Regions from separate parts of the Homo sapiens genome. Here region 1 is linked to region 2. Evidence: promoter capture Hi-C in 16 types of primary human blood cells and fetal thymus (Javierre and others, 2016). All regions are on one chromosome and are shown on one strand. Each heading gives the region's core, a stretch centred on a gene start or on the middle of the fragment in contact. The rest is flanking DNA. Distances are from core to core; before and after follow the strand shown. Region 1 overlaps MRPS27 (mitochondrial ribosomal protein S27). Region 2 holds the start of CARTPT (CART prepropeptide).

Region 1 (3,160 bases), core at 129-2,628, 560 kb after region 2:
TTTTACATCTATTAGTTTTTCTCTTGATATTCATAGTTAAGGCGGCTGGAACTTCAATTTTAAAGTGAATAAAATTCTGCGTGAGAAACTAAACAAAAAGCCAGAGCTACATGCTTTCAAAGTCTGAGGCATCTGGTGATAAAATCTTATCAGTGACATTAAGAAACATTATGTTTTAGCTATGGGAAGTGCCTTGGGAGGCATCCAAGATGATCTGCTCATCTAGAAAGCTGATGTCCAGAGAGTTCACTAACTAGTTCAAAGCTACAGATCAAAGTGGGGACTAAACTGGTCCTAAGACCCCAGTCACCTCTTTCTTCCCATCCTGACTCCTTCAGGGTCTTTTTAGTACCTCCCCCACAAGATAATACATTTTCATTGTTGAATTTCTTTTTATGTTAATTTTTTTCTAGGTTTAATTAATTCTATGTCACACTGTTAGGAGGTTTCAAAATGTTCATTGAGTCTGTATCTTTTGGTATATTACTGAAACTGCTTAGGAAAAAAAACTGACACAAAGAGATACACTGGGCTAGCTGATGAGCTTCTGAACTTGAAGTCAGGCCTCATCCACAGCTGGAGCTTGGACTTGTCACATGGCTCCAAGGGACTCACTTAGTCTATCCAGGTTGCAATTTCAGATTCCGGAAGTTGGCAGGACTTCAGAGGTCATCTGGTCTAAAATTTTCCAACTAGTGCCAATACACCAGGAAGACCCAATGGGTATGTTTTGGCAATTGTTCTTTCTCCAAAGGTCTGTGGCCAGTTCCTGTCAAACAGTCCAAGTATGGTCAAGTAGGCAAGATATGATCCAGCAAGCTTAGAAAGAAATGTGTACGTACAAAAAAAAAAGGCAAAAGAAAAACTCACCCTCTTGCTGCCTTCTAAATCTGCTTCCAATTCAATACTTCTATCATGTACAAGCCACTTTCCCACTGAGGTTCAATTTTCAGTTCATTTTTGACTCTCCTTGTTTTCTGTCTCTACATTCAACCTGCCATTAATCCTGCTGATCCAATTTTTTCCCTCCTATGTACATTTCTCTCTTTATTTCCACTGTCTACTACCACAGGACAGGTCTTTTTTCTCTATATGCATAGACAATTTCCTTATAACATTTACCAATTTTAATAAAAAATTTACCCTGTTATAAATCTTTCTGAAATACTTTTATTATGATATATACTTCTTAAGAATCTGCAGATGACTATCTTGAGGATCTTTTAAAAAATATTTTTTCAGGCTAGGTGTGGTGGCTCATGCCTATAATCCCAGCACTTTGGGAGGCCGAGGCAGGTGGATTGCTTGAGTCCAGGAGTTCAAGACCAGCCTGGGCAACATTGTGAGACCCCATCTCTAAAAAAAAAAAAAAAAACACCACCAAAAAGGCCAGGCATGGTGGCATACGCCTAAAGTCCTAGCTACCTGGGAGGCTGAGGTAGGACAATTGCCTGAGCCTGGGAAGTTGAGGGTACAGTGAGCTAAGATCCTGCCACTGCATGCCAGCCTGGGCAACAGAGTGAGACCCTGTCTTTAAATTAAAAAAAAAAAAAAAATTTGGTTAATTTCCTTCTGTGTGTGTGTGTGAGAGAGAGAGATGGAAAAAGAGAAGGGGGGAGGGAAGGGAAGGGAAGAAATGAAAAATATGTATTTTTTGAATAAGTAATATACACCCATGATATAAAATTCAAAAGTTACAAGAGACAATTCAATGAGAAGTCATCCAGGTTTCTTCCCTAAAAGAAACCAATGTTACCAGTTTTTGTGTGTATCATTCCAGAGATATTTTATGTACACACATACATATATACACATAAGCATCAAAGCACATGTATACATATTACACATAAACCACAGTGGCTACATCACACACTAAGTCCTACTCTTGTTTTTTTCACTTAATACATTTCACAATTTATTCAATAGGAAATACAAATAAAGCTTCCTCATTCTTTTCAATCACTGCACAGTATTCCACTGTACAGCTGTAGAATAATTAAACAGGCTTCTATTGATGGACGTAATCTTTTACTTTTTGCAATGGACATTTTTGGCATGAATATGAGTGTATCAGGAGGTTAAATTCCTAGAGGTGGAATTATTGGGCCAGAGGGTATTGTACTTATAATTTTGACAGATGCTGCCAAAGTTCTATCTATACAAGTTGTACCGATTTATATATCCACTAGCAATGTATGATAATGACAGATTTTGAACCCTCCCTTCTCTCCTGCCAACATTCTATTCCCTCTCTAATCTGCCTTCCTTATTTCTCATTATTCCCCAACAAACCCTGATCTCTCTGGTTAAGGCAGTTTCCATAAAGCTAGTTCTCACTTCCTCCTTCTAACTCCAGCTGTACGATTTGTTCCATCTTGAACACTTGCTCCTGTTTCCTCTACTCATCTAACCTTCAAGGCTATCTTAAGTTCTACCTCTTTTATAAATGTTTGCTGATAACAACATCAATCCTTCTTCTAGCCTGCTCAAAACATGTTTTCTCTAAAACTTACATTTTGTTACATAAATTCAGTAAATTTATCTACTTATCATATCCTGGATTTGTGTTGATTTTGAATTGTTTCACGTATCTAATGATCTTCAACCATCTAATAATCTTTTTTTGGGAGGGGGACAGGGTCTTGCTCTAGTACTCAGGCTGGAGTGCAGTGGCTCGATCATAGCTCATTGTAGCCTTGAACTTCTGGAATCAGCCTCCTAAGTAGTTAGGACAACAAGGCCCAGCCTTAGCTTCCTGAGTTGCTAGGACTATAGGCACACACCACCATGACCAGCTAATCTTTAAAAACATTTTTGTAGAAACGGAGTCTCACTATGTTGCTCAGGCTGATCTCAAACTCCTGACTTCAAGGGATCTTTCCACCTCAGTCAACCAAAGTGTTGAGATTACAGGCATGAGCCACTGCACCTAGTTGTAATATTTTTTTATTGTTGGGATTATATAATATCCTTCCTTTGAATATACCACAGTTTTAGTGCATTAAAAAATACTCTCAAAGCCTCTACTGGCTTTAAAATTTCCCGTATAAACAGAGCTGAAAATCATTTGTCTTACAGACACGAATCCGTCCTCATTTATTTCCATCTCAAATCCTGTTAGGGCAGTTTAAATTTTCCCGCAATGGAAAAAGAATGACTT
Region 2 (3,324 bases), core at 354-2,853:
ACAGAAGTAGTGAGCCTTTTGGAAATACAGGAAGACCTTTCAAGGAGGGGTAAGTGCAAAGACATCAAAGTATGAATGAGATTGGCCTGCTAGAGGACCAGAAAGAAGGCCATGTGAGGTTGGAGTGGAGGAGTCTGGGGCAGAGTGGTAGAACATGAGGTGGAGAGGGGTGAAGATCATATAATGCTTTGCAAGTCAGGATGAGGAATCTAGATTCAGTGCTTAGTAAGATTAGGAGTCATTAGTGTATTTTAAGGGGAAAAATACTCTGGTTGGTGGTGAACTATGGAGTAGAGGAAGGCAAGAGAAGATAGGGTGGGGATTAAGTGGTAGACATTAAGTTGACTGGGGCAGCTGTCTAGGACTGGGTTGTAGTAATGGGGATGGAGAAGAGTGGATGAATTTAGGAACAGTTGAGGGAAAGATGGTGTGGTGAAGGAAGCCAGGTGAGCAAGCAGGTCTAAGCGGGAAAGCATTGCTTTTCCTACAGGAATTTTCCTGTGCATTCAGGCTGTAAGGATCTCAACTTTTAAAAAAGCCACATTGTTCTCCCAAGTTGTTGGGGAGCTGGTTCACCATTGACTTCTGATCTCTGGAGATATTTTCATAATCATGGAGCTGTCTTTCTTTTCACTCTTTTACTCTCTTTCTAGACAGGCTTCTTGGATACCAAGGGTTGGTGGTGGGTGGGGGGAGGTTCTGGGGATGGTTAAATTTGCCTGGGCAGCCTCAAAGTTCAAAAAGGAGGGACAGGGAAGCTTAGCTAAGAACCAGGAGTTTGACATACTTAATCTCTCATTTCATCCTACTGATGACTTTGTGAGGTATATCTTTTTAATCCTAGATCTACAAAAGAGAAAGCTGAGGCTTGGAGAGGTTCTTCATTTTGTTCAAAGTCATACAACTTTTACGTGGTGTAGCCAGGATGGGAACCAGAGCCTGGCTCTCTGCACTTCCAACACCACTGCTGAATCCGGGTTTGTCTGTTTTCCCTCTCTTCTTTTAACTATTGTCACACAGATTCCATCATAGAACCCATCACGTGGAGGGCCACTATTTCTCTTTCTTTTGTATAGTATGTTTGCTTCCCCTACCCCACAGAGTAAGGTGCTCAGCAAATGTGGCTGTCTGGAGGCAACACCCCCTTCTCACCGCCACACTTGGGGTTGGGGTGCGAGGCAAGGCAGGGCTGGCGAGGTGGATGTTGCAGCTGTCACCACTGCTAGGTGTTGGGAAACGACTCTCCTGCCTGTGCATTGACCCGAAGGCATTTTCCATTTCCTAGGCCCCTCCCGCTTCCCGTCCCTCACCTCTAGCCCCTCGGCTTCAGCTCAGGCCCCTCGGGGAGCATCCCTTGCCGTGAGACTGACAGCCTTTGGGGGCGCAGGGTCCTGTTCTCTGCGCTCTAGCCCATCTGTGCGCAGAGCCTCGTTCCCAGGCGCCTGGAACCCGGCGGGCATTGACGTCAAGCGCCGGCGGAGCGCTGCCTACAGACGGTTGACCCGGGCCCTCCTCCACACCCCCTTCCTTCTTCGCCTCCTCCCTCTTTCCTGCACGGGGGCTCGGGCTCACTATAAAAGGTGGGAGCGCGTGGTGCCCCAGCAACGACGAGTTTCAGAACGATGGAGAGCTCCCGCGTGAGGCTGCTGCCCCTCCTGGGCGCCGCCCTGCTGCTGATGCTACCTCTGTTGGGTACCCGTGCCCAGGAGGACGCCGAGCTCCAGCCCCGAGCCCTGGACATCTACTCTGCCGTGGATGATGCCTCCCACGAGAAGGAGCTGGTCGGTATTCCCCTCGCTCTCGACCCCCTTGAGCTGTCGCCTTGTCTCTTCTCTTGCACGCCTCCCTCCTCCCCCCACCCCCACTCCTATTCCCAGAGTCAGGGCGCGGGGAGCTGAGCGCAACGCCCAGGCACCCACTGCCATCCGAAGAGCGTCTCGAGCTCACGGGCTCCTGGCAGTCTGTTGAGCGAATCCCTCATCCCGGCCCCTCTGAGCAACAGGGACCCCAGCGGCTCAGAGACCCGCGGTCAGTACCTGGGACAGCGTCCGCTAAGTTTCCACCCCTCGACCATTCCCTGTGTCCGCGGAGTCCCACCGCAGAGTGCGTGTGGGTCCGGGGCTCCTTATAACTAGGGCTGGAAGTGCGCACCTGGGCTGGGCTCGCAGCCAAGGCGGCAACTTCAGGCTCCGAAGCGGTGTGTTGCAGATCGAAGCGCTGCAAGAAGTCTTGAAGAAGCTCAAGAGTAAACGTGTTCCCATCTATGAGAAGAAGTATGGCCAAGTCCCCATGGTAAGGTTTGTGGTCACTCCCTTCCCGTGTTTTTCCAAGAGAAAGTACACCGCCTTGAATCGTACACACAGTCTTCTCCGTAGGATGTGGCTAAATAACTTAGGTAATGGGCTTGCAGGATTCTGTGGGCTCCTTCTTCCTTCCCGGGTGAGGAAATGGGAAAGCAGGAACAGGGGTTGTAAGAAAGTGTAAGTCTATTGTTTGTTGCTCAGGAAAAAGGTCTGATTTTTTTCCCCTCTGAGAGGGCAAGAAAAGGAGCCAGGAAATGTGATGCTCCCCTTCCCACGCCCCCCAACCCTCGCCACTTAAAGGTGGAAGAAACTAGGATAAAACTAATAATGTAAGTTTCTTTAAAAAATGTACTCTCACTGAGGTTATAAGCACAAGGCTCCCTGTTTCAGATCTGACTGTACGTAGACCTCTTGTGATGGTGATGGGGTCCAATTGCCCCTTTCAAGAGACAGAAATTGCGTTGACTGTGAGACTTGCCTGTTGGGAACCTGGGTTTGTTCATACTCGATGACCACACATTTTGTTGTTTCAGTGTGACGCCGGTGAGCAGTGTGCAGTGAGGAAAGGGGCAAGGATCGGGAAGCTGTGTGACTGTCCCCGAGGAACCTCCTGCAATTCCTTCCTCCTGAAGTGCTTATGAAGGGGCGTCCATTCTCCTCCATACATCCCCATCCCTCTACTTTCCCCAGAGGACCACACCTTCCTCCCTGGAGTTTGGCTTAAGCAACAGATAAAGTTTTTATTTTCCTCTGAAGGGAAAGGGCTCTTTTCCTGCTGTTTCAAAAATAAAAGAACACATTAGATGTTACTGTGTGAAGAATAATGCCTTGTATGGTGTTGATACGTGTGTGAAGTATTCTTATTTTATTTGTCTGACAAACTCTTGTGTACCTTTGTGTAAAGAAGGGAAGCTTTGTTTGAAAATTGTATTTTTGTATGTGGCATGGCAGAATGAAAATTAGATCTAGCTAATCTCGGTAGATGTCATTACAACCTGGAAAATAAATCACCCTAAGTGAC

What was found. The method cuts DNA at HindIII sites, captures the fragments that hold promoters and counts their contacts. A CHiCAGO score of 5 or more calls a contact.
Region 1: a fragment that was not itself captured here is called in contact with the fragment with the promoter of CARTPT in region 2 in 1 of 17 cell types (M1 macrophages); the score reaches 5.0 in M1 macrophages.

What each region holds. Positions count from the first base shown.
Region 1 is chr5:72,282,890-72,286,049 of GRCh38, forward strand. The region is part of intron 4 of MRPS27 (mitochondrial ribosomal protein S27); the gene reads right to left. LOC107986422 (a long non-coding RNA gene) reads right to left here. Exons shown (of 2, transcript XR_001742742.2): 2 at 1-769. Among named protein-coding and RNA genes, the nearest start is that of MRPS27, 36 kb to the right of the region's middle. The HindIII fragment of the contact is 1,122 bases long and covers 818-1,939 here.
Region 2 is chr5:71,717,672-71,720,995 of GRCh38, forward strand. CARTPT (CART prepropeptide) reads left to right here and starts at 1,604. Exons shown (of 3, transcript NM_004291.4): 1 at 1,604-1,781; 2 at 2,209-2,292; 3 at 2,837-3,324. The coding sequence starts at 1,623. The coding sequence ends at 2,944. RefSeq lists an enhancer at 1,742-2,628. The HindIII fragment of the contact is 2,457 bases long and covers 757-3,213 here.